6 separate regions of the Homo sapiens genome follow, and all the other regions are linked to region 1. Evidence: promoter capture Hi-C in 16 types of primary human blood cells and fetal thymus (Javierre and others, 2016). All regions are on one chromosome and are shown on one strand. The core of a region is centred on a gene start or on the middle of the fragment in contact, and the rest is flanking DNA. Distances in the headings are between cores, read along the strand shown.

Evidence for each region. The method cuts DNA at HindIII sites, captures the fragments that hold promoters and counts their contacts. A CHiCAGO score of 5 or more calls a contact.
Region 2: a fragment that was not itself captured here is called in contact with the fragment with the promoter of TTC29-AS1 in region 1 in 2 of 17 cell types (erythroblasts and megakaryocytes); the score reaches 6.2 in erythroblasts.
Region 3: a fragment that was not itself captured here is called in contact with the fragment with the promoter of TTC29-AS1 in region 1 in 8 of 17 cell types (megakaryocytes, total CD4 T cells, activated CD4 T cells and 5 more); the score reaches 7.4 in megakaryocytes.
Region 4: a contact is called between a fragment that was not itself captured here and the fragment with the promoter of TTC29-AS1 in region 1, in 1 of 17 cell types (total CD4 T cells). The highest score is 5.8, in total CD4 T cells.
Region 5: a fragment that was not itself captured here is called in contact with the fragment with the promoter of TTC29-AS1 in region 1 in 6 of 17 cell types (activated CD4 T cells, megakaryocytes, total CD4 T cells and 3 more); the score reaches 7.6 in activated CD4 T cells.
Region 6: a contact is called between a fragment that was not itself captured here and the fragment with the promoter of TTC29-AS1 in region 1, in 10 of 17 cell types (total CD8 T cells, M1 macrophages, total CD4 T cells and 7 more). The highest score is 9.3, in total CD8 T cells.

The regions. Positions count from the first base shown.
Region 1 is chr4:146,930,894-146,936,080 of GRCh38, reverse strand. It overlaps TTC29-AS1 (TTC29 antisense RNA 1), which reads right to left and starts at 2,077. Exons shown (of 7, transcript NR_188447.1): 1 at 1,744-2,077. All of the region lies in intron 4 of TTC29 (tetratricopeptide repeat domain 29), which reads left to right. The HindIII fragment of the contact is 4,123 bases long and covers 1-2,930 here.
Region 2 is chr4:146,219,677-146,224,863 of GRCh38, reverse strand. REELD1 (reeler domain containing 1) reads right to left here. Exons shown (of 8, transcript NM_001354631.1): 4 at 2,285-2,507; 5 at 256-419. Among named protein-coding and RNA genes, the nearest start is that of REELD1, 7.7 kb to the right of the region's middle. RefSeq lists an enhancer at 1,581-2,780. The HindIII fragment of the contact is 699 bases long and covers 1,896-2,594 here.
Region 3 is chr4:146,248,067-146,253,253 of GRCh38, reverse strand. No RefSeq gene overlaps it. Among named protein-coding and RNA genes, the nearest start is that of REELD1, 36 kb to the right of the region's middle. The HindIII fragment of the contact is 944 bases long and covers 1,820-2,763 here.
Region 4 is chr4:146,309,581-146,314,767 of GRCh38, reverse strand. All of the region lies in intron 6 of SLC10A7 (solute carrier family 10 member 7), which reads left to right. Among named protein-coding and RNA genes, the nearest start is that of MIR7849, 96 kb to the left of the region's middle. The HindIII fragment of the contact is 5,069 bases long and covers 68-5,136 here.
Region 5 is chr4:146,325,663-146,330,849 of GRCh38, reverse strand. It overlaps SLC10A7 (solute carrier family 10 member 7), which reads left to right. Exons shown (of 12, transcript NM_001029998.6): 6 at 4,854-4,889. Among named protein-coding and RNA genes, the nearest start is that of MIR7849, 80 kb to the left of the region's middle. RefSeq lists an enhancer at 760-1,959. The HindIII fragment of the contact is 3,725 bases long and covers 820-4,544 here.
Region 6 is chr4:146,344,859-146,350,045 of GRCh38, reverse strand. The region is part of intron 5 of SLC10A7 (solute carrier family 10 member 7); the gene reads left to right. Among named protein-coding and RNA genes, the nearest start is that of MIR7849, 61 kb to the left of the region's middle. RefSeq lists an enhancer at 1-40. The HindIII fragment of the contact is 1,060 bases long and covers 1,697-2,756 here.

The sequences.
Region 1 (5,187 bases), core at 828-3,327:
TTCTTAGACCAAAGCTCTTTCTGTAAGATAGTGGATGCAAATCATTAGTATGGAGATAGCTTGTACACAGGTCATTATTATGCTTTTGATTGATACACATTCTAGACCTTGCCCTAGACAGACTAATTGAATAGCATAAAAAGGAGAAAATTGATGAATGATTTCAGCATCTCCCAGCAATGCCCAGCAGGTGCCATGAAGAATTATGCATAGTCTGTTAGCCAGGGAATTACTGCATCAAACTCTTTATAGCCATTCAGCTCTAAAAAGATAAATTGATCAACAAACATTTATTAAGTACTCACTTTATATCTAATACTAGGTTTTTCACAGTGGGAGAGACAATGATATTTTATTGTAAAATACTTGGCCCCATCCTGGAGCCTTAACATCTATTTGAGACAATAAGACCTATGAGCAGGAGACAAATATGAAATGATCGAGTGCCGGCTGTACCGTGAGGTGCAGCCTAGAGGTCAAGAAAAAATCAGAGAAGACTAAGACGATAGGATAGAACTTCTCAAGGAAAATAGATTTTGAGTTTGGCTCCCTGTCTGGTTGCATTATAAAATTATCTAACTGGTAGTCATAGATCTTCAGTATATGAAAATGTAATGGGTAGAAATGGAAGAATCAAATCAGGCAAAAACAATGTCTAAGATATATCCTCAAATCCCTCTCTCTACTGCCTTATTCGTGTCTTTAAGATGGTGATCGATATATTTGTGTATACTCATTAATACAATTGATGTACACTGGCTTTGATATCCCATAGTACACATATGCTCTGTCTAGTTTCAAAATAACCTCTCATCATGTACCCCAAAATATGCCAACCTAAACTCACATGCTGTGACTTTCCTCCCAATGCGATGGGTGGAGAGTTCCTACTGTCATCTAAGCATGGTCCCTCTGCTTGTGCTCTGCATCTCATCCCCTTACCTGCTCCCAAGACTTAACCTCCTGCAGTTAAATTTGCTTTTCTCCTACACCATCAATTTCTCCTTTTTCATTGGATCGATCTCACTGGTATTCATTTCTACTCAAACTTTTTTCTTGACATCTTATCCCCTTCCAGGTTCTACCCCATTTTGATCTACCCAAGACAGCAAGAAAAGTGCTGTCTTAATATTTTCACATTTCATTTTTGCCTCAGTTGACTCTAAATAGGTTTCCAGCCCCCATACTTACTGAAATGCCTCTTTAGGGTCACCCATGACCCCTATTTTTATCACATCTAATAGTTATGTTTCTGTTCCCAGCTTCCTAGATGTCTTCACAGCATTTGACCAAGTTGAACGCTCTCATCTTCTTGAACATTTTGTGCTTGTGACTTTCGGGATGCCATATTCTGTGGTTTTTCTCCACACTGGAGCACTTCAGTCTTCTTTGCAGGCTGCTTTCTCTTTCCAAACTCTCAGTGGTGAGGTGCCCAAAGGCTGGGTCCTAGGTGCACTTCAGCCACACTCTCAACCTGGACCCAGTCTTACAGCTTTAAACATTAGCAATAACCCAACGGCTACTCAATTTATAAATCCAGCACTGGCCTCTCCATCAAGCTGAAAGTTTTTAGATCCAATTGCCTCCTTGATGTGTCTACTTGGATATATCACAGACATCCCAAGGTTAATATAACCCAAAACTGGACTCTTGCTTCACCCCTACTCCTCTCTTATCCCCAATATTCGTCCCACAGCCTTTCCTCCATTCAGCAAATAACATCAAGGCAGCCTTGAGTCTTACCTTGCTTACTGCTACCCCCCTCTAATCCATCAGTATGCCCGATCAGCTACAACTCCAAAATGTATCCCGTGTTCATCTCCTGGTCTTCATTGCAGAGCTGCCATCATGTCTGCTAAGATCGCTTAAATGGTCATATAACTGCTCTTCCCACACCCACTCTCACTCCACCACACTCCTGCTAGAGTGGTCTTTTGAAAACATTAGATCATGACATTCCCCTGCTTAAAATCTGCCAATAGCTTCCCATTCTTCACCTGACCTGAAGCTGTGCATGGTCTGGACTTTACTGACCTCTCTGACCTTCTCTCTTTCTCTCCACCACTCTCTACTCCCAATGTGGCCTTATTGCTGACACTTCTTCTTATGCAGGTGTCAACTTGAATGTGACCTCCACAGTGAGCCGTTTCTTGACCTCATAATACAATGTAAATGAGTAAGCAAGCAGGATAAGCTAACATGTAGTTGTCACTGGAATGGCCAAACCCAAGTGATGGGGGTTTATTTTACTTGGGAATGGTAGAATCGTTCAAAGGCAAAAGGCTTCTGGGTTTTGTATCATCTACCTTCACAGAAGAAATTTCAGTATGCTTCGTTACTTTCTAAGTGACTAGATTATTGTTGTGCCTTATAGGTGCATTTAAAAAAATCAAATCCATTGTATTCACATTCCATATTTGATAATGATGATTTGACTTTAAACTTCAAAGTCAAATTTGACTTAGCAGTGAACTTCAAATGGTTCACTGCTACTATCTAACTGATCTTTAACAAGTACAGACAGTCATGTCCGAAGAGTTTCTGTACTTCTGTACTTCGGATTTTTAATTCTGTATAATATTATCAGAATGCATTATTGTTTTCAAAAAGAACTTAAAATATCACTTATTATCATATCATAATTACTTTGAGTAGCTAAGTAATAAAAGAGTCATTTATAGATTCAAATAAACATTTCTAGAGGGCACTTTACAGCTTTAGCTATGTATGTGAGGAAACAAAATCATCTGGGGACAGAGTGTGTTAATCTGCTCAATATTATTTTCTGCTTCAGATATGAAGTTCTATTATGCAGAAGGATATATTTGGTTCAAAATTGTGGGCATCTCTAAGATATTACTTTCTTTCCGAACATCTTATTTTTAGCATCATCAGTGGATGTTTATTGAGCATCACTTTGTCAGCAAGCTTAGTGGCAGTTAGGACTGTTCATTACTATATTCAGTGAGTTTGGGCTGTAAAGAAACAAAGAACAATTTACTTCATATCTTTTTTTTTTTTTTGAGACGGAGTCTCGGTCTGTCACCCAGACTGGAGTGCAGTGGTGCGATCTCAGCTCACTGCAAGCTCTGCTTCCCAGGTTCAAGCCATTCTCCTGCTTCAGCCTCCCAAGTAGCTGGGACTACAGGCGTCCGCCACCACGCCTGGCTAATTTTTTTTGTATTTTTAGTAGAGACGGGGTTTCACCATGTTGGCCAGGATGGTCTCTATCTCCTGACCTTGTGATCCACCCACTTCAGCCTCCCAAAGTGCTTGGACTACAGGCGTGAACCACCGCGCCTGGCCTACTTTCATATCTTTTAAAGCCTTTTTCTCCTGCCTCATTTTGAATTGTATTATACTTACTCAAAGTAAATTAGTGTTTTGCCAGTCCACATTTTGTTTTTTGCAGATTAGGTTTTTATCTTGAATCTCAAAATTTTTGTCCAAAGATGCTTTTATGAACTACAAATATACTTTTTATATGCAAATCTACCTTCTGGATTTGCACAATGCCCTGGCACTCAAACATATGGAGCAAGATGAAGCCATTTATTTAAGATACAATATTTCATAATTCTTTATTGGAAGTTAGATCCTTTCAAGTGTGCTCTTCCTCTGCTTCATTCATTTTTGTTTACTTTTGAAAATGTTTGTGAAATCATTTTGGTTTCTCTTAAAAAAGTTTGCTCTTTGGTAAAGTAATAAATTCTCTATGGAGGTTTGTAAATTAACTTCCTGAAGAAGTCAGTTGCCAAGCAAATGTTTACATGACTAATCTCCAGATGAGACAGAGATAGGTGGGCAGGAGAAGGAAGAACCCCTGTTTCCTGCTAGGAAAAGAAGATTTTGGTGCTCTAAAATGAAGAGAAAATTTCTTCTTTCTCATGAATTTTTTTAAAAATAAGCGATTACAGAGAATGCAGATGGGAAGAGAGAAGGAATTGCCACTTCTTTTTGAAAAAATTCTGGCATTGTCTTCGAGATCAGATCTCTAGGATGTGAAACCAGGAATGAAAAGATCGTTTTGCCATGATTTAAAGGAAAAGGAAGAAAGAAAAGAAAGAGAAGGAAGGGAAGAAGAAGAAAAAGCAGAAAGAAGAAGGGGGAAAAGACTGATATCAGTAAAGTTTAAAATTGGGGAATTTAAAAAATGTAGTTGGAAGGAGCTTTTTTAAAAACAAAACAAGACAGAATAAAACAACAATGTTCACTAGGTACAAAAAAATGGTCTCAAATTTTCACCAAAACCAAATATAGAGATAAAAGAAAAGATTTCAAATGTCAACAGAACATAGAAATGCCAAGTTCTTAGGCGTTTATATCTTTGTGTCCTTTAGGAGTTTGCTTTAAAATGCTATTTTCACATATGGTGTTTAAGCTTACCAGCTCTAATAGACATTAAAAAAAGATGTCTCTAAGAGGAAAGCATGGGAATCATGACTAGCAGCTCTGGCTATTATAGGAGCTGATTCCTTCTGTGGTTGAAAACTTGGCTTTGTTATGTAATACCTGTATTGTCTTAAGGTTACCTGCTTTCTCCAATCTTTGCTTTCCACAACTATTTGGAGAGCATACTAACAAGAAATTCTTACAAGAAGTAAATGAGATTCTCTATATGAAACACGTGTAGACGACACTCAATTCAGACTATTATTAATTATCATTGCTCATTTTTCTTTGGCTTTTAAGCATTTATTAATAGTATAAATAACCTAAATATTTTGCATTAACTTAATGTGTTGATTTATGTAGTGATATTAATTTATCATTTCTCTTTATGTATAGTTATATCTTTTGCTTCGTACTAAGTATCATTTTCATCATGTTCTAAAGGCAGAGTTTTAAATAACATATATTTCAAACTTATAATACTAATCAGTGAGGGGACTTTTTTTTTTGTAGAGACAGGGTCTCACTATGTTGCCCAGATTGAACTTCAACTCCTGGCTTCATGCAGTCCTCTCACCTCAGCCTCCCAAAGTGCTGGCATTACAGCTGTGAGCCATCATGCCCAGCCAGTTTTTTTAAGAAAATTTCAAGTTGTAATAAAAACTTTTCAGAAATGTACAGATAAACTCGCAGTTTTAGAAATACAAAGAATATAGCTGAAGGATGTGGTTCTTCCTACAATAGCCCGTAAACCACAGTGCAAAATGCACTTCTCTATTTAAAAACCATTTGGGA
Region 2 (5,187 bases), core at 996-3,495, 710 kb after region 1:
CTGGGGCCTGACTTAATGTGTTAGGTTGAGCCAGACAAAGTGTGTTTGCTGCAACAAACAAAGCAACTGCAAGCGTTCCCTCCCTCTCACTGCTGCGTTATCACATCCCCAAGAACTGCTGCAGTTGGCCACGGCAGGTGTTTATTGCTTGTTTTGCAGGAACAGGAAACTGGCAGTAGTAACTTTTAAGTGAAAATAGATAACTGTAAAAATAATGATGACAACCAGCCTGGCAAATACAATGACAAGCTGTACCTGGAGCAGCTCCTTCAACATCGCCCAGCCTCTGGTGAAGGTTTGGCATCAGCAATCTGGGCTCCATGCGGTCGTCAGAATGGGCGCTGCTATGTGTCTGTTGAGACACAACAGATGATTCAATCCTTGCCCAGTAAACAAAATATGACTGGACTACTGATAAACTGGGGAAAGAGAAAGAGCAGAGCAGTTCACGGATTTAGTTTCCTTTAAATAATAACTCAGGCCAGCCTCACAGAAAAGAGAGAACACACTAACAGATAAAGAGGAACAAAACTAAATAAATAGCAGAATGAGAGAGAGAGATTATATTATTACTCTTTGAGTGACTTCATTCTTTTTAAAAACAAAAACCCCATAGTTGCAAATAATTAGAATAGGAGATGATATGAACAAATCAATAGTCCTCTTGAATAAATACAGTCACTAAAAATCTCATTTTAACTAAAAAGTATCTCCTCAAACTGTTTAGACTCCAATAAAAGGTTTTATCATCAATGTTACTATTAGCCATTCCTGATATAGTTATTATGTCATGATTTGAAGATCTTATAATTCTGTTGTATAATTGTACATGTCTACCCTTATTGTAGATTCTATTGGAAATTAGAGATAAATCCTTAATATTCTAAATAATTTTTTGAAAAGCAATTCTTCAGTAAAAATCACATTCACAAACATTATGCCATTTGTTCTTCCAAATATTTCAGTAAAGGAGGGATTATTGGCAAGTGCCATTTTTCCCACTTTAAGTATTCAGGAGGCAGACATAACAAGGTGATTAATTTGGCCGAAGTCACCCAGAGGCTCGAGACGCAGTGAGCGTCATAGTTCAGGCCCCCAACATGCGGTTTCCAGACTCGGCGGACATTATCGTGCGCAAGCGTTCCCGGAGGTGGGAGATCACAGGGTGACTTGGGACAGGTGTCTCATCAAGTGACTTACCTCGTTTTTTCTGTCAAATGGAGATCATAGCTTCTACACTACTTGCTATGTGGCACGCAGCAACTATGATGGTACATCCAAAAATAGGAATTGAGGTGCTTTGAGAAAGAAAGGTGACTGTACAGGTTTAAGGACTTCAAGAAGCAGACACCCTCTGCGCTGCGTAAGAACCAAAGCCAAGGGCAGAAGCTGGGCACACCCACAGGTAAGCGGGCCCTGGGCCTTCCAAAGAGGAAAAATCCTAAGGCACGTGTTTCCCTTCTTGCTGTCCTGTCTGCTGCCCTGTGCCACCAGGAGGTGGGGGAGAAGGGACACCACAAGCTAGGGCCACCAACCTCCTCTCCCACTGCTCCCCAGAGCAGAGGGGAGTCCTGGAGGGGAGCATGTGAGCTGGACTACCTCTGCCTGCAGGCGCAGTCTCCTTCATATTTAGGAGGGTGTGGGGAAGAGAAACAGAAACACACACCCTTTCCCGAAAGAGAAAAATTATCTTTCTTGGTAAATGCAAGTGTCTGAAAAGAATGACAAAACAAGTACCTCATTTTGAGTACTAATGATGCTTTTAAAGTGCTTACTGTTGCCAGGAACTCTTCTGAGCGAACGTAGGCTCTCTCATCCATATACAACCCTGAGGGAGGTGCTGTGGTTATGCCCATTTATAGAAAACAAGCCAAGGCACAGAGCCTCAAGAAGCTTTTCCTGGGCCCAGGGACGTGTCCATTTGTCCATCTGCCTGTTTCTCTCTTTCTTGGCTCTCTCCTGCCTTCCCCACCGCCAGCCATTCTGTCCTCTGGTCAGAAACTCCTAGAGAGGTTGGCCAAGATTTACCTGTGCCTGGGGAGGCAGGGAGATAACACACTCTAGGCCCATGGACAGTGATGAAGGGATGAGTTTGGGGGCAATATTTTTTTTAGTTTCCCTCTGCATAGGCTCTCCAGTTTAGGCAGCATCCATGACCCTGTCCTTGCTATAAGGTGGCCACATAAGGAGGGGGAAAGGGAATATGAAGTCAGGGCAAAGAGAAGCTCCCCTCTCTCCAAAGTAGAAGGCTCAGTTTCTAAGAAACAGCACTTCACTCTCTTACAGGAACTTAATGTCCCCCACAGGCTGGGCTGGGGCCTTCCACACGAATGACAGGTTTCTCTTCAGGGACTTGTCAGAGTGGGTGACTGCATCAGCCTCTTGAAAACAAGTCATCAGTTTGGAATGAGGAGGAATGAGAACGAAAGTGCCAGCGATTTGATGATCGGACACTCTTCGAGCCTGAAGGAGAAATCCCATGAAATCACGACTGCTTCTCACTGTCACTGCAACAAAAACACCCGTTCAACATGAACACGTGTGACTTAGTTCCGTGTGGTGATTTTATGCAGCTTTTTTCAAAACTAAAAGCTTAAGATCAGCCCCCAGAAAGTGAACAATTCATTAGAGGGGGGTAAAGTTGAAGTCCTATTTCACACCAAAATAAATTCCATTTGGATCAAAGTTATGCGAAAATGAAATAAAAAATAACTAGAAACTTTTTTTCTTTTTATAAATATTGGATTTAGAAATACCTCTCTGAGCAAAACCCAGCTGCCATAAAGGAAAAGATGAGTAAAGTGTGCTATACTTTTTTAAAATATGAGTTTAGGTGAACCCTGGACAGATGATTAAAAAAAATTATTTTCCAAAAAAAAGTATTTGTAAGACATAAAACAGACAAATATTCATTGTCATGGTGAATTCATAAAAAGATGACTGCCTCAAAATAATGAAAGGATACAAACAGAAATAAAAAAAGCTTAGTAATAATTTTTTTTTTTTGAGACAGAGTCTCGCTCCGTCACCAGGCTGCAGTGCAGTGGCACGATCTCAGCTCACTGCAACCTCTGCCTCCTGGGTTCAGGCGATTCTCCTGCCTCAGCCTCTCGAGTAGCTGGGAGTACAGGCACGCACCACCACGCCCAGCTAATTTTTGTATTTTCAGTAGAGACAGGGTTTCATCATGTTGGCCAGGGTGGTCTCGATCTCTTGACCTTGTGATCCGCCCTCCTCGGCCTCCCAAAGTGCTGGTATTACAGGCGTGAGCCACCGCATCTGGCTGCTCAGTAATAATTTTTAAAGCAATTATACATGAGATATTATTTTATACCTTTCATATTAGCAAATGTTAAAATGTGTGGTTGTAAGCAGTCTTGATAAGACTATGGAAAAACTAGGGCATTCATTCACTAGTGCTGGAACTATAAACCATCCAACTTTTTGTGGTGTAACCTGACAACATCTTCCACATTTAAAATGCAGTTACCCCTCTGATACATGCTACCTTATCAGTTAGCCCTGAAAACATAGTAAGTAAAATAAAGCCAGACCCAAGATGACAAATATTGCATTATTCCACTTATGTGAGGTACCTAGAGCAGTCAAACTAACAGAGATGGAAAGAAGATTTAAAGTTATCTGGGTCTGGGCATAGGGAAGGATGGCCAGTACAGAGTGTCCATCTGGGATGATGGAAAAGTTCTGGAAATGGATAGTGATGATGGTTGTACAACAATGTGAATGCGCTTAATGCCACTGAGCTCTGTACAGCTATAATGGTAAAGTTTATGATATATGTTTATAAACACAATAAAAGAAATGCCCTCCAAAAATCATTACTCTTTGATCTAGAAATTTTGCATCTAGGAATTTTCCCCACTGACAAACTTGCACAAATAAATATGGCAAACACTGATGTCCAATACCCAACAGCGATTGTCCGCTTATTCCCTGCTAGCAGAACAGATGGTTCTGCTAACAGAACCCAGATGTTACATTCATGTGGAAGTGGAGACCACCTGTCTTCGGGGAAGTTAGGCCTCTCCTTTTCCCCAGGGGATGAACTGTGATTAGACTAAAACCAGTGTTGGTGATTCTGTTCCCCTTCACCAGATAGAATTCTGGCCAATGAGGCCAGATCTGCTGAGAGAACAGCTAATGTCTAAGGATCAATCTTTTCACGTAAGGCCTTTATTTCAGCTGTCATCCCAGTATGAGGCCTAAAACCATGGCACTCATCCTGAAACTGTGCGATGTCAAAGGAATGAAATCCCAACTCGCTGATGATGGCGGAGCAGGAAAATCGAAAAATCTTAGGATCTAGATGATGTCATTGAATGGCTTCACCCAAAGCAGAAACTGTGCCTCCACACTTAAGAGAGAAAATTAAGTGTCTTTATTCATTAAGTTTCTGTTAATCAGTTTTTCTGATACTTGGAACTAAAACAATCTTGATGCATACAGTGAGCAAAGACATATGAATAAAGATATCCATCAAAACCATTTATGAAAAAAATTTAAAAAGTAAATACCCATAAATAAGAAACTGGTTAAATCAATCATGCGACCTCTAGACAATGGACTGTCATGAAATCATTAAAAACAAGCTCTGTGGCTGGGCACGGTGGCTCACGCCTGTAACCCCAGCACTTTGGGAGGCTGAGGCGGGTGGATCACGAGGTTAGAAGATTGAGACCACCCTGGCTAACACAGTGAAACCCCATCTGTACTAAAAATACAAAACAAAAAAATTAGCCAGGTGTGGTGGTGGGTGCCTGTAGTCCCAGCTACTGGGGAGGCTGAGGCAGGAGAATGGCATGACCCAGAAGGTGGATCTTACAGTGAGCCAAGATTGCGCCACTGCGCTCCAACCTGGGTGACAGAGTGAGACTCTGTCTTAAAAAAACAAACAAAAAAACAAACAAAAAAACAAAATTCTGTATCCAATAAAATATATCAGTCTGATTGTTAGGTAAAAAATATAAACATTAAACAGACATTTAATTTGTGTCTGCTTAAGATTATATTAATTTGAGATCTCACTCACATATGCTTAAATGCATGGAAAACTTCTGAAAAGAGGTGCAAGAAACTTAACAAAGGTTACCTCTGGGGAATCAAATTGAGTGTTCAGAGCCAGAGAAGGAAAAGTACTTTTAATTTTCTACCTTTTGATAGTATTCT
Region 3 (5,187 bases), core at 1,042-3,541, 680 kb after region 1:
TATCGGGTCATTATTAATTTATAAGGAAAACTGACTCTTTTACTACAATTCCTATTGTGAATAAACTGTGAAGCACTGCCTTGTGCTCCTCATAGGAATATATTACTTCATAGCTGTGTAAATATTAACTCTCCAAGGCAAGACTGCAGGTATGATATGCAAGCAACTTTCATCTTGCATGCCTTGACAGAACAATAGACCCTCAGTAATTTAAGCTAAATCAAGTTAGATCGATCTGAATTGATGAAAGCTTTATATACATAAAAAATAAAAGATTTCCTTATAGAAATTCTGATGTACTTACTTTAAAAACTAGATAAAAATTATCATCGTCAGTTTGTATACAGGCAATATATGAAAGGTCTTATAAGACTTTCTTTAACAAATCTTAGTTGCACTATAGGACAGTTTTTCTCAAATGTGAGTAAAATGCAAAACCCATTTAAAGGGAAAAAAATTTTGTAGACTCTGGAGAACTTCTCTTCAAACCTGATTATGAGAAACTCTGTATTAAACATTGAACACTGTCACTCTAGCAGGGTGCGGTGTGGTTGTCAACACGAGTGCAAACAAAGGCACTGAAATCACAGGGTCATGCTGGATCATAGGGTCCTCATCCAAATCACCTGAAACGGGCTCTCCCAGATCTCCACCCACTTCTGAACTCTCCGGCATCTCAAACGCCATGGCTGTTCTCTTCTGTGAACTTCATCCACCCAGACATGGAATTCAGCTCCAGTTACTTGATCACTACAGAAGTCTCAACACACTGAAAGTCTGGGGATGTACAAACTTTTTTCTTTTTTTCTTGATATGGAGTCTCGCTCTTGTCACCCAGGCTGGAGTGCAGAGGCGTGATCTCAGCTCATTGCAACCTCTGCCTCCCAGGTTCAAGCGATCTCCTGCCTCAGCCTCCCAAGTAGCTGGGATTACAGGCACTTGCCACCAAGCCTGGCTAAGTTTTTGTATTTTTAGTAGAGATGGGATTTCATCATGTTGCCCAGGCCAGTCTCGAACTTCTGAGCTCAGGCACTCTGCCCACCTCGGCCTCCCAAAGTGCTAGGTTTATAGGCATGAGCCACCACGCCCGGCCTGGGGATGTGCAAACTTAAATGACTACTGTACATCCTGTTCCTGCCCATCTGCCAGCCACCAGCCATCTGGAATTTCTCACTGACCACCCCTCCCTCCCCAAAGGCTCCATCTACCTGCCCTGTTACCTGCTCTCCCCGCCCACCTCCCTTCTTTTCTCTTCTCTCCCCAATCCCAAAATTCACAGAAATGCAGCTAGCTCTGTTCATTCTCTAACTTTCCAAATGTGCCCTAAGATCTACTTGCAATGGCCATGGGAAGCTTTAAAAAGCCATATTCCCCGAGATGGCTATATAACCTGACAAGCATCATCACTTCTACTTCCCTCTCATTTAGGTGAGCTCACATTTCTGAACTTGGAATGAGGCAATATGAGGATTCAGGTATGTCCTGGAAAAGCTGTTCCCTAAATGTCAGGGAGAGAGAAGGGAGTATTTGACTTTTAAGTACAGTAGAAAACAAGCAAATGATATAAATGGCTAATTTATAGAAGACAAAATAAAAACGAATAATAGACATTTTAGAATATTCAAACTTACCATGGATCAGGGAAATGTACATTTAAATGAGATACTATTTTTCACCCATGAAAAAGATTGACAAAAAGTTTAAAGTTTCATAATATTCAAATACTGACAGAGTGTGGGGCAGGGCACTTCTGCCCTGTAGTGGGAGTGTAAATGAGATGGAATTTGTGGTGGGCTATTTAACACTACTATCCAAAGCTTAAATATATGTGCCCTTCAACCCAACTCTTGCATTTCTGGGAGTCTACCCTGCAGAAATAAGTGCACAAGAGTCCACTGACAAGGATGTGTTCGGAGTATTGGTAAGACCACAAAGAACACCCAAATTCCCCGAATCAGGGAAGCGTTTAAATAATCAATGGTGCCTTCTTTAGAACATTTGGACCAATTTAAAGGAGTGAGGGTAGACTGCCTTGGAATAGCAGTATTTTGTTGAGGGGGAGGAAAAAGTACATTTCAGGAAAAAATATGCATTTTTGATCCTATTTTTACAGATCCGATATTTTCATTAACTAAAATGTTACATATCTGTAGGGACACTACATGCTTAAAAAACATTTGGAAGGATAATTATAACTACCATTTATTGAGCTCTTCCTTTATCCCTAGTACTTTTCCAGGCACTGAACATTATCTCATTTTACCCTCACCAACCTTATGACGTAGGTAATATTAACCCTGTTTTATAGATGACAAGACTGAATCACAGACTAAGTAGCTTGCCCAAAGCCACAAAATTATTAAGTAGGAGCATTTTAACCATTTTTAGACTATATTTCACAGTGTTTACTTCAAGGAAGTAGAAATGCAGAGGTGGTGTATAATTTTACATTTTACTTTGATCACATTTTGGAGGGCTTATAATAAGCATGTAACACAAACTGGTGCGACCTGTCCTTCTTCTTGAGGGAACAGCATAAGTCATGTCTAGGCTATTGGACGTTTGTCAAGAAAAACCTCTTTTTCATCATGAGAAAGAAAGAGGAAGGCTTAAGCACAACCTAGGTGGGTGAAGGCAAGACAAGAATCAAATTGTTCTACAAAGTGATGTGAGGGGAACTTGGGGTGAGAGTAGACAGCACGGAAAGAAGGGCTGAGACGTTCAAGAATGGAGAGAAGAGAAGAAAAAAGAGAAATAGAAGCTTTTAGCAGTAGACTTTTTAGCAGTATGGCTGAAGACTGAGGAGGAAAGACACAGAAATGTCTGATGGCAGTAATGGCAAGGGCCTCCTGAAGACAGCGACTAAATACATCAATACACGCAGAGCATTTAGGAGCAGGCCTGGCACATACTTAGTGACCTGTGTGAGTGGTGACGGTGGTGGCAATGGCAGTGGTTGCTATCAGCAGCAGCATTGTTAGTTTAAGTTATTTGCACTTTTTGCAGTTCTAAAACACGTGTGTCCCCTCCCTTCCTCCCCACTCAAAAAAAAAAAAAAAAACTTTAGTGAAAATCTGCCTTACATCAGAGCTTTTTGTTCATTTGGGAGAAAATGAAGTAAAACGTTCAGCATCCACCAAGAGGGTATATAGAGGACAGGAAGCAAGCATTCCAGTAATAAAGACACCAAGTCATAGGCAGGAATTCTGTGCATGAGATGATCAGAAGAATGGAAGCTCCTGGAAATCTTGGGGAGAGAATACTTCCCACAGAACATGGAATTCATTCTCAAACCATTACATCCAAATATAAGTTAATACATATTCAGATGGAATGGGGGATTGTAACGATAGTTGCTACAATTCATACTAGTTGCTCTGATTTGCAGCACTTGCCAATTGCTGGAGTATAAATGCTCCTGACTGGGCTGGTTTCAAGCTACCAGCACCGAAGGCAGAGTTAGGAAGAGATGTGCACCATTGGCTCTCACAAGCTGGTACAGCCAACCCCAGCATACCTCTACACGACAGGCCAGTACTAAATTTTTTACTCGAATTTTTCATTTAATTCTTTCAACAACCCTAGTAGGATACGTACCATTATTATCTGCATTGAACAGGTAAGGAAACTGAGACCAAACAGTAAGCAGGGAATGCAAGCCTCACAACTCTTTTAGTGGTGGAGTTGGGATTCAAATTCAACTTTTCCTGACTCCAAGAGCCCACATGTCTAACCACTAAGTAGACTCCATGACAGCCCAAAAACCTCATAGTTCTTGGAAGATCTTGTTTTCTCATGTGCTAAAATTCTGGAAAGTCGCAATGATTCTGAACTTCTTGAGCTCTGCAAAGGCTGGAGTGCAGTGGCGCAATCTCTGCTCACTGCAAGCTGCCCCTCCCGGGTTCATGTCATTCTCCTGCCTCAGCCTCCCGAGTAGCTGGGACTACAGGCACCCGCCACCGCGCCCGGCTAATTTTTTGTATTTTTAGTAGAGACGGGGTTTCACCGTGTTAGCCAGGATGGTCTCAATTTCCTGACCTCGTGATCCGCCCGCCTCGGCCTCCCAAAGTGCTGGGATTACAGGCGTGAGCCGCTGCGCCCGGCCCTCAATGAAAGTTTTAATACAGGATGTTCTGTCTTCATGTGGAGTGAGTCAAAAGCCCTACAACTCAGAAATTCCAGACAGTTGGAAGGAAAGAGCCTTGGGTTTCTGACATATATACCAGGTCTCAGAGTTCACTGGTAGTAAAAGACAACATGATGAGGAAATGGACCCTGCCCTCCACCCTAGAAATGGGTCATTTCCTTATTATCTGCTATTCTAAACTTGAAATTTTTGTAACGATGTTGACTTGTGCTCATTGCTGGAAGTCTGGACTCTGATTCTGTGTGCTCACAGAGAGCACTGCTGTCAGTGTGGTCTCCTGGGCTGGTTTTGCCAACATGGCTAGAACTTACTCAGTTTCTTTTCCACAAATAAATGTTTACCAAGACTTCCAACTCTGGGCCCCACTGCTATTGTTGTCTCATGTGTGGTGCATTCTGACAATCCCCCTCCCTCTTAGCAGCTAATCTGTCCACGCCTGAGAAGTCTTGTGCATGCTGAAGAAGAAGCAAACTGTCACTTGAAGAGTTCACTTATCTTCTTATGAAGCCAATGTGAGAATTATGTAACATCATAGGGTTGTTATTAGGGTCGAATGAGATAATTCCAGCAAACAGCTTGTTACCGTGCCTGGCAAGAACTCAATGAGTGCCAGCTATGATTGTTATTCAACAATGGATGGGCAAACCATATTGGGTGTGTGGAGTCGAAGTGTGTTGGCACATGTCAGGCTCTATTCTGCATGACTTCTAATCTATGCAAAAGATCTATTATGGTGCCCATTAAACATTACTAATCAAGTCAGGAAGTGACCAAGGTGTGAGTGTCTACTTCATTAGTTAATGAAGACACTGGATTCTGGATTTTAAGATGGCTGTAGCAACAGGCCTCCCTGGCTTCCAGCAGGCCTCCCCAAGAACACAAAGGGGCAAGTGCGTATTGAAAGGTCCTCCAGGCCCACTGTTGCTGCTTGCCTTTTCCTACCTACTGCAAAGAACACCAAGTAGAGATTTTGCCCAACTCCTCCAAATGCGCTGAGTCCAGCTGAGAACCATCTGGCAATGCGGCTGACAGACAGAGCT
Region 4 (5,187 bases), core at 1,353-3,852, 620 kb after region 1:
TCTCCTCTCTCCAGCCATAAAGGTCAATTGAGCATCAAGACCTCTTGAAACATGTGGAGTGCAAGCTTTGACCACTGCTGAAAGTCATCCTCAGAGTTCATAGATGACACCATCTTCATATATGGGGATGGTCACATCATTACCTTGGGGTATTTGACAAACATTGGCCTACATGCTCACCCACTCGGAATCATGTAAGCACCCCTTGAGTAAATGGGGGCACTGCTAGCTCTTCTATTCTATCAACTGGTTTTATATGACTTGGTTTCTTAGAGAGCTGGCCCCTCAGCAAGTAGGTTTATAAGGCACTGTGATCATTGGACTGATATACACATATGCATGTGTATACACAAACACATATGTACACAGAATATATACATACCAGGCTCTGTTTCTAGGCTAACTATATGTTCCCTTGATCTGACTGTCTCTCCAATTAGTTTCCATTTCAGTAGTTCTTAAATTCAATAGGTTTGAATTCTCACATCTTTGTATAAGAAACCTTGTTTTTCTGGGGTAGGATAATTTTTATTGAGTAGCTACTATGGTTACTTGATGCATAATCCCACGTAACAGGCATGACTAGCTTTGGAGGTATTATCTTCACTTTATATGAGAAAAGCTAGGTTCAGAGAGATTTTGTCACTCGACTGAGACTGCACAACTGGTAGAGAACACAAGACGCTTTCAGCCTGGGTCTGCCTCCCCTTGAATGCCCCTTCCAGGTTATGCTTCCTAAGCATGCCTCTTGGGAGACACAGTTTGTTTTAAAACATATTATCAGCACACAATTACTTTTTCTTGAACATTATATCCTAAGTAATATAGGTAAGAGGAAAAAGAAGCAGGCATAATAATTGCCTTGAAGAAACTTAAAACGTATTTGGGCAAACAAGAATCAAGAATATGGAAGAAATTTAGAGAAGAAATTGACTGCTAAACTGTGATTCGAACTGAGCTTAATAGGAGTTCATAGAAGAGAGAGGTCTAGGTCAGCGAAAGAGACCAAGGGGCAGCTTTCAAGGCTACAGTCATCATTAGTTTCCGTAGTAATTTGCTGTCTATGATAGAAAATTCTTCAACTTTTGATCCCATCACTATGAACAGAAACAATGTATACAGCCATTAGTGTCATGTACAATAATTATTTTTTATAATTTGTTTCCATTTATGGTTGCATAATTAATGGACACACGTGTGAGATGCATAAAATGATAAACCTAAAACCACTTGAAAAAAAACTAGCCATCTGATTGTCTCAGTTGCTTCACATTGAGTCAGTTTCTCTACCTTGTTCTAAAGCAAATGAAGACAAATCTCCCCTTGAAGCTAAGAGTAGCTTCTGACTAAGGGAAGGGAAGCACCTAGTAAGCAGTTTTCAAATGCTCTAGAGGTGAAAGAGGTGACATTGATAAACTTCTTCCCCCATTAAGGACTACTGTCCCAAGAAGGCCAGTTGCACTGCTGGTGTGGGACTTCTCAGGCTTCACTGAAGTGAGCTGGAGACATGGGATGAGTTGGGGCAGTCTTGTCCTAGCCAGGCTTTTCCCTTGCCCTTTGGTTCCTTCTTCAGCACCAGCTACTGGGGGTGCTCCTTAAGCGGGTAGGGTCAATCCAGAGTTGGAAAGACACTGGTTCCTTGCTACTCCCTTGCCTATTGGTAACCAAGCTGAAGGAACTTAATCATGTGTTCTACTTAAGAGAATATTTAGCAATAGCAGGTCCTTTGGTTCCCAAACCACACTCAGGATTGACAAGACCAAATCCTTTGGTCAAAAATTAGGGAGCAAAGTTTGGTCCTAGAGGCCTCTGAGTATCTCTGCCTCCAGCCCTTCATGGCCTGGAAGCTCAATTCTTCATAGCTTTCCTCTTTCCTCTAGGTTAGAACAAGCCAATTTACGGTTCATTTTGGCACATTTCACTAAACAGACTGTGTGGGTTTGAGTAACCTGAACCTGTGATTGCACACTTTAAGTTTCCATCAAAGTTATTAGAAAGTAACCTTTTCATCTTACATTTTAAATTAGCGTATAACATGGATGAACTGGAGGACATTATGCTAGGTGAAATAAACCAGACACAGAAAGAAAATTACTGCATAATCTCACTTATATGTGGAATCTAAAAGAGTCAAACTCATAGAAACAGAGTAGAAGGGAGGTTACCAGGAGCCAGGGAGTTGGAGAAATGGGGAGATGTTGACCAAAGGATGCAGACTTGCAGTTATAAGCCAGTAAGTTCTGGACACCTAATTTACAGCATCGCTACTATAGTTAATAATAAAGTATTGCATATTTAAAATTTGCTAAGTGATTAGATCTTAAGTATTAAGATCATACACAAAAAGGTAACTATGTGAGGTGATGGGTATGTTAAATAGCTTTATCATAGTAATCATTTTGTAATATATATGTATATCAAAACATCATGTTGTACACTTTGAATAGATACAATCTTTGTCAATTATACCTCAATAAAACTAAGAAAAGAACAGTAGCTAGCATATAAACAAAAAGAAAAGTGAAGCCATGTTTTATATAATGTTTTTATATTGATAAAATCTACTAAGCCTCTTTTGTTCTTTATTTCTCAGAGAGGGAAAAAGACTGTGCATATAAATATTAAAAAGATACTTTCCTCTCCTAAACATATACTTTCCACACAATAACCCAATTTTAGCTTGATGCATGCAACTGAATCAGTATGGCTGTTTAATAACCATATTCCTAATTTTGATAAAAATCATAGTCTTTTTAACATTTGAGTCTGTCACCTGGTATACATTTACTTGACAATTTTATGTAAGTTTAGTTTGCATGTACCCCTGTGAGAGAAGGAGCAGTAGGAATGAAAGAAAAGCTGAACTATATCGTGTATAGGGAGGGGATTGGGGCCTGGGGAGACTCTTCCTTCTTCTGTTTAAATGTTTATCTTTGTGACAGGAAGGAGATATGGGTATTAGGAGTGTGTCTGTGTGTGGGCACAATAGTAAGCAAGCCTTCTTCCCTTTCCCTTTCCCCAGGGCTGGGCTCTGCGGGTGATGTGGAGAGGTGGAAATAGAGCAGGAAGACAACAAATCCTGCTCTATGTCTGAAGCTGCTACTTTCTGATTTCCTAGCAAAAGAGAGTTAACATTCATAATTCTACAGTATCAACTGTAAATATCTATTCTTATTTTTCCCTGAATGTGGTGCTAATGAAAGTGAAGACCAATCATCAAGGGTGAATTATTTAATACAATAATGTTTTAATAGCTGGGAAGAGACACAAATAGTGGAGATGCCTGTGGCTAATGGATTTCCCTGATAGGAGATAAAAGGCCGATTACACAGCAGAGCAAGTGAAGAACTGGTGCATTAATGACAATTTACAGGTCAGCTCACTTACAGGAGTGATTTAAAATGCACCATCTGTTTTCTAACTGTAGGTTGATAACTGTGATTCTACAGACAGTCAACATCTCTTCATCAAGAACTGCTACCTATTTGTCTTTCTAAGCCTGGTTAGTTTGCCCCATATTATTTTACCAAGTGGACCCCCAGATTCTTTCAGATGAAATAGTTTCTAGATTGAATGGGTTGATAACAGTCAATCTTGCTTCCACTCAGTCTCTCTCTGCCCAGTTAGAGAATTAAGCCCTGATGTCCTAAGGCATTCATTGTGTGTATTGAACTAACTTCTCCCTAATGCATCTACCCTGGCACTAGTTATGTACCATCCTTGGGAGAGTCGAGAAACCAGTCACTCCAATCATTTGCTGTGTTCTGTGGTTTGCCCCTTCCCCTTCCCCTCATCCCCCTCCCCCCATCCTCCCCCTGTCTTTCACATAGGCACAAAAAGAGGAGCCCAGCTTTGATTTTCACTAGTGCCCCCTTCCCCTGTTTCACACTGTACCACCTATAACTAATGTGTAGTAGAGTGTAAAGAGTTAAGTGTGAGGGCTTTGGAGCTACACTTGTGGGTTTAGATTCTGTCTCTGTCAATTTCTAGCTATGGTGACCTTGTCCAGGTTGTTTAACTGTTCTGTGCCACTGTTGCCTCTTGTGAAAATGAGGGTAATAATAAAACCAACATCAAGGGGTTGCTGTGAGAATTAAATTATTCCACATGCAGTAAGCATTCAAAGCAGTGTCTGCTTCTCAAAAGAAGACATACAAGTGGCCAACAAATATAGGAAAAAAAGCTCAACATCAGTAATCATCAGAGAAATGCAAATCAAAACCACAATGAGACACCATCTTACACCAGTCAGAATGGCTACTATTAGAAAGTGAAAAAACAACAGATACTGGAGAGGCTACAGAGAAAAGAGAACACTTATTTATGCACAATTAGTGGGAATGTAAATTACTTCAGTGTCTGTGGAAAGCAGTTCTGGAGATTTCTCAAAGAACTTAGAACTACCATTCAACCCAGCAATCCCATTACTGCATATATATCCAAAAGAAAATAAATCATTCTATCAAAAAGATACATACACTCACATGTTCATCACTGCACTATTCAAAATAGCAAAGACATGGAATCAACCTAAGTGACCATCAACAGTGGATTAGATAAAGAAAATGTGGTACATATACACCCATGGAATACTACACAGACACAAAAAAAGAACAAAATCATGTCCTTTGCAGCAACATGGAAACAGCCAGAAGCCATTATCCTAACAAATTAACACAGGAACTGAAAACAAAATACTACATGTTCTCGCTTACAAGTGGGAGCTTGGATATTGGGTACTCAGGGACATAAAGATGGCAACAAGAGACACTGGGGACTAATAGAGTGGGGAGGGAGGAAGGGGACAAGGGTTGAAAACCTAACTGTTGGGTACTATGCTCACTATCTTGGTGATGGGATAATCCATATCCCAAACTTCAGCATCACTCAATATACCCATGTAACAAACTTGCACGTGTACCCCCTGAATCTAAAGTAAAAGTTGAAATTATTAAAAAATGAAACAAAGCAGTGTCTGTCACATGAAAGTGCACGATAAATGTTACTATTGAGATTATAGAAGACAACTGATTGGGAGACCTGGCTGATGATCCTTACTTGGGTCTGTGAACTAAGTAGAGCTTTGCAGCTTACCTGAATGAAGTTGGAAGAATGTGTTGAAAGCATTCGCAAGCTTTTTCTGCCTTTGTATTACAGTCATTCACTAATTGACACACATTCATTGAG
Region 5 (5,187 bases), core at 1,433-3,932, 610 kb after region 1:
CCAGACCACTGTTTGCCTGAAGAGCAAGGGTGTCTTCTCTCTGGGAGATTCTCTGGCAAAGGCACAGCCATCACAGTTCCCATCTGTATATAATGCTGTCCTACTTCATAGAATTGTTGTGAGGATTACCTAAAATAACACAAAGTCCTTAATACAGTATGCAGCATAAGTACTGCATAAATGTTAGCTTTTATTATTTTAATAATAATTGCGATGACTTCCCCAAAACTTAATTATGGTGCTCTTGTCAGAATGAATGCATCATGGCTGACTCATTTCCTAATGCAACTGAAAAGTAGGTTTCAGCGTTATATAAGGACGTGAGGGAGACAGAGAGAGGGGTTCGCACTTTAGATGAGGACTAGACCAGGGTATCTCTAAGATCCCTTTCAAAACTGATATTCTTTATTCTGTGAAAACTGAGTTAATGCAGTATCCTGGAGACAAATCTAAAAAGTCAATTTTAATATCTGTGTGATCTTTGTAGTTGTTGCAGCAAAACCTCTTGATAACATTTTCTATTTCAAAAATTTCATAATTTCACTTTAGTTTTGCCTTTTTTTTGCATGTCCTATTGCTGAGAGAAGCACATTCACAGTTTTGTTGTCTTGCTGTTATTTGGGGCTTTTTGTTTGTATTTTGATGCAGCTAAATCTATCTAAGATTTAACACTCTTTCTTTCCACTAAAGTCATTGAAATACATTCACCTAGTCATTCACATCTGAGGTGTAAATGGATTTTCTGAAAGTTTTTTCAGGAGACAACGAAAGCCAGTCAGTTTGTGACTTGACTTCTTCAGGTGTTGCAATCAGAAAGCTTTATACACCATCCCAATTGCAAGGATGCTAAATCTATGTCTTACCTTGAATCTGCAAGGAGGAGGTAACATCTTTTGCTAGAAGTGCTTATCTCCTACCACTTTGGTTTTATCCATTTTCAGGAGAATTTACTTAGGAAAGAGAAAAGAGAAATAATTAAATTGAGCTGCATATACTCAAAAGAAAATAACATGTTTATTTAATTTTCTAGCTTTCAGTGATTGTTGCTGATGCAGTTTAAATGTTTAGCTCACCCTTTTTACCACTGATATTTGCAAAAACTTGACTCTAAAAAAATGTATCTGCCATATGACATGAAGGCTTACTTCTTAATTTGTTTTATGTTATCAAAAAGACATACTGAGCCTGAAACTCCTCTCAGATTTACTCTTAAAATACAACCCTGAGGAAATAACTTAACAATGCAAAGATTTTATTTACACCATTCAAGAGCACAGGCTCTGGAGTCAAGGGGAGGTTCAATTCCTGGCATTGCTTCTTCCTACTTCACTCAGTCTCTCTGAGGCTCAGCATTCTTACCTAGTAGATGGGATAATATAATAATAGTACCTATGTCAGAGAGTGTGAGGATTACATAAAATAACATAGCTAAATCCTGGGTACAATATCCAACATAAGTACTACATAAATGTTAGTTTTTATTATTTTAATAATAATCATGATGACTTTACTAAAAATTATGGTGCTCTTCTCAAAGTGAATGCCTCCTGGCTGACTCACTTCCTAATACAACTGAAAAGTAGGTTTCAGCATTATACAGTGATTCACTCTTAATGAACCTGAACAGCTATTCTTGAGAAAATAAGAAGGAATATTAAATCCAGAATTAGCAAATCCTTCCTATTTGCTAGGAAACTTTTACTATTTTGGGAACAAATGTTATAAGTCCTTGGAAGAGCTGCAAAGAAACTATCATGTGTCATTGACTATCCATTAGAAGTATTCAGGGAGAAAAACCTGTGGATAACAACACTTTTCTATCTCACTGATTTTCTTTAGTATCATTATGTTGAATTCTTTTTCAGGCATTTCATAAATTTCCTTCTCCTTTGGATCTGTTACCAGAGAATTATTATGTTCCTTTGAAGGTGTCATGTTTTCTTGCTTTTTCATATTTTTTGTCCTTACTGCACATCTAGCATAACAGTTGCTTCTTCCAATTTTATAGATTGGCTTTAGTAGGGAAAGAATTTTTCCTATAGATATATCTATAGTGTTGGTTTGGTAGGTTGCCTTGGCTTTGATTCTGGATGGGCACAGTATTGTAGTCTCTGTATTTCTTCAGCTGTAATCAGCTCAGTGGTGTCTGTTGTGGTTGTTAGTGGAGGCTATGGTGAGGCATTTTGGGGGATAGGGACTCCAGACAGTCCAGTCCATGGACCCCAGAGGTGGTGGTGGAGTGCAGAGTGGACCTATCCTCAGGCCTGGGATGGTTTGCATAGGTTCTGGCAGTAGTGGGCAGAGTGAGTCCCAACACTGTGCATGGGTGCTGGCAGCAGCAGTGGTAGAAGAGGAACAGCTTCTCCTAAGGTCCACCGATGATGCAAACAGGTGTCAGCAGCAGTAGGTGGGGCAGATTAATTCCCAGGCCCTGGAATGTTGTCCATAGGCACTGGTGGCTGGAGTGGCAGGTGAGAGAGGTCTCTCCTCAGGCCTCCCAATAGTCCACACAAGCACCAGTGGTGATAAGGAAGTGTGGGTAAATCCCGAGGCCCCCAGACAACATGAACATTAGTAGCACACAGGGAGGCCCGTCCTCAGGCCCCCACATGGTGCACATGGGTGCTGGTGGGAGGGATGGGTTAATCCCCAGGTTCTCAGACGACCTGTGCAGGTGGCAGTAGCAGGTAAGCCAGGCCTAGTCTTAGTGCCCTAGAGGGTGTATGTTGGTGCTGGTAGTGGAGGCAACAGGCAGGGTGGGCTTCTCTTGAGGCCTCCCAATGGTGTGCACAGGCGCCAGTGGCAGGGAGCAGGGTGGGTCATTCCCTAGGCCCCCATATGATGTGCAGAGGTGCCAGTGCACTTGTGGCAGGTGGGGCTGGCCTGACCTCTGGTCTGCAGACGGTGCCTGCAGATGCCAGTGAGTGGCATATATTGATCTCCAGACCCTCAGATGATGTGCACATGTGCCAGTGCAGGCAGAGTGGGCCTATTCTCAGGCCCCCCAATGGTGCACATGGGCGCTAGATGCAGTGGCACAGGGGTGGGGGCTATCAATCCTCAGGCCCCTGGACAATGCGCACAGGTAGTTGTGGCAGCGCCGGTCGCAGCAGTTATATCATTCTATATTGAACCTTGTTTATAGATCAGTGTCCTCTACTGGATTATAAGCTGTTTAAGCATAGGGACCATGTTGTACTTACTCTTGAATCTCTTGGATGAGCCCAGTACCCAGTATATAAGTGGATGTTTAATTATATGTTTAAACAAATCTGCTTGAAATTGAATGCCTCTCATATAGACTGAGTCAGCTAGATATTTTCATTTTTATGTGGCCCTGTAAAATTTGGAATTCCTCCTAAAGTCTGAACTTAGTACAAGTCATTGAAGGACAGTAGCCCTTCGAAGTTATCAGTTATTTGTCATTTAGCACATTTGGCTCTCCTAAATGTGTTAATGAGAACCTGTTTCATAGATACCAATGGAGTTGATAGGCCACAATACCTGTTTTAATAAGTAGGATTTAAAGTGATTCTTAGATTAAAATATTGTATTCTCTTTGGCCAATTGCAAAAGTGTGCACAATAAAAAATGTTCATTCTATTATTTAATAACAAAACAAGTCTGTCTGTGGATATTCACATGTGTATATGCCCCAGAAAGTCATGGTAGCATTGTTCATTTAAGGTAAGCCAGTCCCTCTTGGGCCACATGCAAAACACTTGAGTGACTGTTATGACACAGGGACTTTCATGTAAATACCAAAAGGACTTTTTTTCTTCCAAAAGTAATGAAGTAGTCCCAGATCTGGATCTTGGACACTGTCTGGATATATAGTACCTCTGTCTATCTGTCTCTCTCTCTCTCTCTCTCTCTTTTTCTGTGTGTGTGTGTGTGTGTGTGTGTGTGTGTGTGTGTGTGTGTGTGTGTGTCTGTCCCTCTCTTTTCTGTCTTAGGCACGCACAACCTCAGATTCTCTGAAATTTTAAAATTCCAAGTAGAATTCATTAATAAAAATCTGAAATGTTTTTTCTGGTATAAATCATAATGAAATGTTGAGAGACAAAGGAAAAACTAAAACGGGCAAATAATCATCTGCTGCTCCAAAACTGAAGCCTGTCATTACAACTCCCAACTCAAACACTTAGTTTTAAAGATTTGCCTTCAAGAAACCTAAAAGCTGGTATTCTGCCTCATTGGCAACAGCCTCAAACTGTTCCCTGTCATCGAAGAAAACAAATCTTTTGCTCATTTCTGCCTAGGGGAGGCAGAGGGACCGAGGTGGTCCTATGTGGCTGAATTAGATGAAAGACTTGCCTTCCACCATGGAGACATGAAGTCTAATCAAGTGAAATGAGTTTTGAGATCCCAGCTCATTTCCTAGGGGAGACCAGTTCACATTACAAAATCATGACATCTCATTCATCACAACTGACGTGGTCTTTGCTCAGGAGAGGACCCCAACTGGGACTAAACCACCTGTCTTCTCTCAAAAAGGGGCATTTTATCCAAGTTAGAGTTGAAAGCCTTGGAGTGAGGAAGCTTGCCAGCCACCAGCTTCTATCTGTATGATCCACGTGCAATGTGGAAGGGAATTTAGGTTTACAAAAGGAAAGATGAACCTAAGGCAGATTGGTGGTTGTGCTTTCAGGCTGCCAAATACAAATAATTGTAATAGAGATGTTATTATGGAAGAGAAAGCTAAGATTGGGACTCTCCCCTCTTTATCTCCTAGATTTTATTAAACAGCAGTGAGAAGATAAGCACTCCTATGCCTCAGAGTTTAAAATGGCAAAGAAAGTGTCCTGCTTTCCAGGCTGATAAATGATCATCCTCTCTTTTATTTCTTTCAGGGCATCGTTATAACACCCCTGCTCCTGCTGCTTTTTGTGAGTATTTTGATGTTGTCTTTAATATATTTTATTAAAAGCTATCTACAACCCTTTAAGAAAGGTCATTAGAACAAAAATGAAATTTGAATTATTTTGCACCATATTTGGAATTGTTGTTCCAGTTTAGCTGTACCGCATAATAATATTCAGATACGAAGAAGCTTCATAATTTCATGATCCAAGAACAGGATCAGGACCCAGTCATTAGGCCTCCAGCTCCTGGCTAAATCATTATATTACAAATAAATGACCCCATGACACAGGTTACAAAAACTGCGCTGCTCTTTATTTTCTC
Region 6 (5,187 bases), core at 977-3,476, 590 kb after region 1:
CTATTCGGCCATCTTGGCTCCTCCCCCTATATATATATTTTTTTTTAATTTCAACTTTTATTTTAGATTTGTGGGGGTACATGTACAGGACTGTTACTAGGGTATATGAAATAATGCTGAGGTTTGGGATATGAATGATCTCATTACCCAGATAGTGAGCATAGTACCCAGTAGGTTTTCAACCCTTGCCTCCCTTCCTTCATCCCTGCTCTATTAGTCCCCAGTGTCTATTGTTGCCATTTTTATGTCCATGAGAACCCAATATCTAGGTTCCGCTTGTAAGTGAGAATGTGCATTAATTTGCTTAGGATAATGGCCTCCAGCTGCATCCATGTTGCTGCAAAGAACATGATTTTGTTCTTTTTATGGCTGCATAGTATTCTATAGTATATAAGTACCACATTTTCTTTATCTAATCCACTGTTGATGAACACCTAGATTGATTCCATGTCTTTACTATTGTGAATAGTGGTGCAGTGAACATGCTTGTGCATGTGTCTTCTTAGTAGAACAATTTATTTTCTTTTGGATGTATGCCCAGTAATGGGATTGGCTGAGTTGAATGGTAGTTCTGCTTTAAGTTCTCTGAGAAGTCTCCAAACTGCTTCCCACAGTGGCTGAAATAATTTACATTCCCACCAACAGTGTACCAGTGTTCCCTTTTCCCTGCAGCTTTACCATCAACTGTTGTTTTTTACTTTAATAATAGCCATTCTGACTGGTGTGAGATGGTGTCTCATTGTGGTTTTGATTTGCATTTCTTTGATAATTGTTGATGTTGAGCATTTTTTTTCATGTATTTTTTGGCTGCTTGTATGTCTTCTTTTGAGAAGTGTCTGTTTAATGGACTATAGTAGTAACAAGTAGTTAATTTGGTAGGTTGTGGGTCTAATTGTAATGTGTTTAAATATGCTGGAATTGTTTACACTAAAACCAGCAAAAATCATTTGAAAAATAAGAGCTGAGAAAACATATTTCAGCATTCATTGGGGTCTGTTTTGCTAAATTACACTCTCAGTGAATGATCAGCAAATTATGCCCATTTTAAATCTAAGAAATAAGGGAATTGATTTGGTTCTCATCTGTTTCAGGCATTTCCTAATGTCTCAGCATTGATTTTTAAATATGCTTTCAATTTTATAGAATTTGGTTGACTAATATGGCACGGGATCTAACCTGTATAGTAATGACAAAGTGCGACTGTTACACACTCTTTAAAGTAATAGAAAATTATTATATCTTTGGCTATCTCACAATATTTACATGTCAAGTAAATTATTTTATAAAAATCAGGCATTAAAAATTCTACCCAGAAAGTGTTGAACAATGAAGATATACATTCAAGAATGTGTGGTTCAGGAAAATTTACATAAATTTAAATGATACGTTTTTATGTACTGTAGTTTTCTCCAGAAGAAATCTGTATGCTTTCTGAAAACATGACTCTTAGATGTTTAAAAGCTTGTCAAATACCCTACAGGAAAGGTAATAAAGTCATTTTACTTAAAGCAAATCATTTTTTCAAATTTCCTCAAGCACATTTATGTAGGTACTGAGAGAGAACAGGAGTTCTTTTACACGTTTTAAATACACAGCACACCAGCTGCTACCCCAGCTATCCACTAGAGAAAGGGAGAATAACTAAATTTCTGTAGCAATGTGTAAAACTAAATTTATTGAAATCCCAGTGAAAGCTTTTGCTGTGTTTGGTATAATAGGGAAAATTCCATAAGATATCTTAGATTGCATTTTCTTCATGTTAATCTTTATAGTCCTTGTGCTCCCAGGTCAGTTTGTAAACATACTTCATTCATTTAGAATGAAAACTCTCACCTCAGAAGCCAACGAGGTTTGGTAATTACAGAACATTTTATTTCAAATAACGTGACTACTCCTTGTTGTAAACACTGGATCCATTGAATTTGGTTCAGAGAGGTTAGAGCTTGGTGACCCCCATTAGTTATTTTTCCTGGAATATATAAGAAATGAATTTGTATTCTAAAGTGTGTGGTTTTGATGTGCTGATGTCAGCCTTTCTTGTGTCTATATCCAATGCTTTCTCTTAGTTATATTTCTGGTTTCAAGTGCTTTTTTAAAATTTATTTTTCATTTATTATAAGAAGCCAATGTATGTATTGAGGATTACTCATATTTTCTTTCATTTTCTTCCTCTTTTCACCTATCCTGTGTTTTCTAAAAGTAGATAGAATCAAGTGTTTTTGTTCCTCTTAAGAAATCCCTGACAGGCCCATGACACTGGCTACTGCTGTAGCTGTACATTTCTATACATAATTGATGACTTGGGGCTAAGCAGACAGCACCAGTACACAAACAATATAGATTACTATACAGTGAGGGTTTTTAGTCTTTGAATTTTCCATTTTTGCATAGAAATAACTCCTTGCTAAGTAAGAAAAATTTCAGAAGGAATAAGTTCACTATAGTAATACATATTCTTCAGAGAACAAAGCATTTGCCAGCCATAGAAGATTTGGACAGTCTTAAGATTCTAACTTTACAATCCTGTCCTCCACTCCAGCCATGTCTCAACTTAGCAGCACTGGTAACATTCGGTTTTGCTGACATTTTGGTTACTAGTAAAATTTTTAAAAAACAAAGTTTTAGCACTGAGGAAAGTTAAATTTCCAAAGAGCACTTTTTGAGGTATTTCATAATCTCATTGCCCTTTCTGTGTCTTTGATTTCCTGGAAGATGAGAAGGCTGGTAGATATAACTGGTTATCTTTTCATGAAGCTTCTGTGAGAGATTGGTGCCATGGGAATGGTGTTTATTATGTCCCATTCACTATGCCCTGCCTTTCTTTTCCTCTAAGCACCACGAACACACTTCCTTGTCTACAGGCCTTTCACACATGCTGTTCTGACCCCCACCATTCCCTAAACCATTTTTAGGTGCCTTCCACCTCTACCCTTCTCTGGGCCATTCTTACTGATCATTTGGGTCTTAGTTTAGATGTTACATCTTTTGAAACCCCTCGCTCAGTTGGGTGAGGTAAGCAGCCTTTCCTTAACCCCATTATCTGGCCTTTACCTTTTTAGTTTGCTGCAACTAGACCGTAAGATCTTTTAGGATAGAGACCAGGCCACCTTTATCTTTGTTTCCCCCCTCCTCTTGGGTATGCCTATCATAGAGTAGGTATCCAAAAATTATTTGTTGAATGAAATCACAAAGATCCTAATAATATAAAATTGACTTGAAACATAAAAATAATGATATGGCTTGCTAGGTTTTAGATGATAAATTGTTCGAATTTATAGGTTTCCTGGATCTTTGTTTTTCATATTGTGATATATTCTTAAGCATGCTGTGATAATAGAAAAAATAGATTACAATTATGTTACACATTTAAATACTCATGAAACTGTTTTGTAATTTCAAATGACCAACTTAATAGAAATAAAATTAGTTGAAAAATAAATATAGCTGAAAAGTTATAATTGAAATTAAACCGAGTTGAAAAGGGAGACATGTATCTATGTAATTCTGAAACTTAAGGCTCATAGCTTTATTTTGATTCACTTTCTTTTTCAAAAATAGAATTTCTCAGAAGATCAAAGGTTTTCTGAATCCTAACATGTACTATCTAGTTCTAGATATCCAGAAGAGGACATTGTTTTTGTCATTGTTTCTTGGGCTGCCCTCATACCTTCAGAAAATACATTACACATATTGCACATATATGTATTTTTCTGTTATAACCAATGAAACATAAAAAGCTACCAAAGCTCTCACATGAAACTGCTGTTTGTTGTTTTTTGTTGTTGTTGTTTTCTTAATACTAGTTAATTTCAGAACTTATTCCACACAGTTCCCCAATAGAGTTGGTCATCAGTTTGTACCTTAGCTTCCTAGTTTATAAATCAGTCATTGATTTCTATGAGGAATAATTTTGAATTCCAACCTTATAAATGGAGATTGGGCCCATAAATGCTTTTTCATCCATAAGACAACTGAACTACAGTATAGAGTTGTGGGTGCTAAAATCAAACTGTTGGAGTCCAAATCCTGACCTCAAAAATTACAGCTTGACCTTGGGCAAATTAGCTAACCTCTGTGTGCATTGGTTTCTTCATCTGTAAATGGGGATGATAATTGTGCTTATCTATTGGCTTCTTTTCAAAATTATGTCACACTTGCAAAGTGCAAGAACAGTATCTAGGAGGAATGCTTAATAAATAATACCTATTATTCATGTATTTATTCATTCAAAAATATTAAATGGGCCCCTATTATGTCCCAAGCATTTCACTAGGTATGGGAAATACAAGATAGAGTAAAAATAAGCATGGTCCCTTTCCTCATAAAGCTTATAGCCTAGTGAAGGAGACGCAGGCATTAATGAAATAATCACACAAATAAATGTAAAATTACAACTGTGATGCATGCCATAAAGCAGATCTATAGTGCCATAAGAGTGCATATTTAGGGGGAATCTATAATGGCAGAAAGACTTCCTTGATAACTGAAGGAAGCTGATGTCTGCAGGTTGAAAGTGAATATAGCCCGGTCAAGGAATAGACCAAGGGCCCTGTGGCTAGCGTATAGAGAGCCAGGTGGAGAATGGAAAAAGATGGAAATGTAGGCAGGAGCAGATAATACAGAATGTTGTAGACCACAGTTATAATATTCGTCCTTAAAGACCAGTGGGAAACTAATGAAGGATTGCATTTCAATGTGGAAACTGTGTTGTAGTCTCCCAGAGCATAAGAGGTAAGAGAAGGTAGAGAAAAATGACCCCTTCCTAGATGTAGCATTGGTCTCAGGCTAAATTTAGAAACGAGCATTTGCCATTGCACTCTTGACTCCCTCTCTGTTCCTTCTACCTGGGTCATTCCACCTGAGCCTGTGGTTCCCACGTCACTGTTTATCCCTCTGCATCAAGCTAGTCTTGCCCATAAAAGTACCTCTTGCCTCAAAATGCTCGACCTTTCTTGCTTCTAAGCAAATTTCATTCAGATAGAAGTTTCAGATTCATACCAGTATTTAGAGGAAAGCATATTGACTAAGATGTGAGTAGCTTTCTTCCGGAACAGTGTTCTCCAACTTTTCGAACTCCTTTACAGTCTTAAAATTTGCTGACGACCAGAGAGAACAGTTGTTTATATGGGTGATATTTATCTATTGATCACATTTGAAATTAAAGCTGGAAAATTATTAATTCATTTA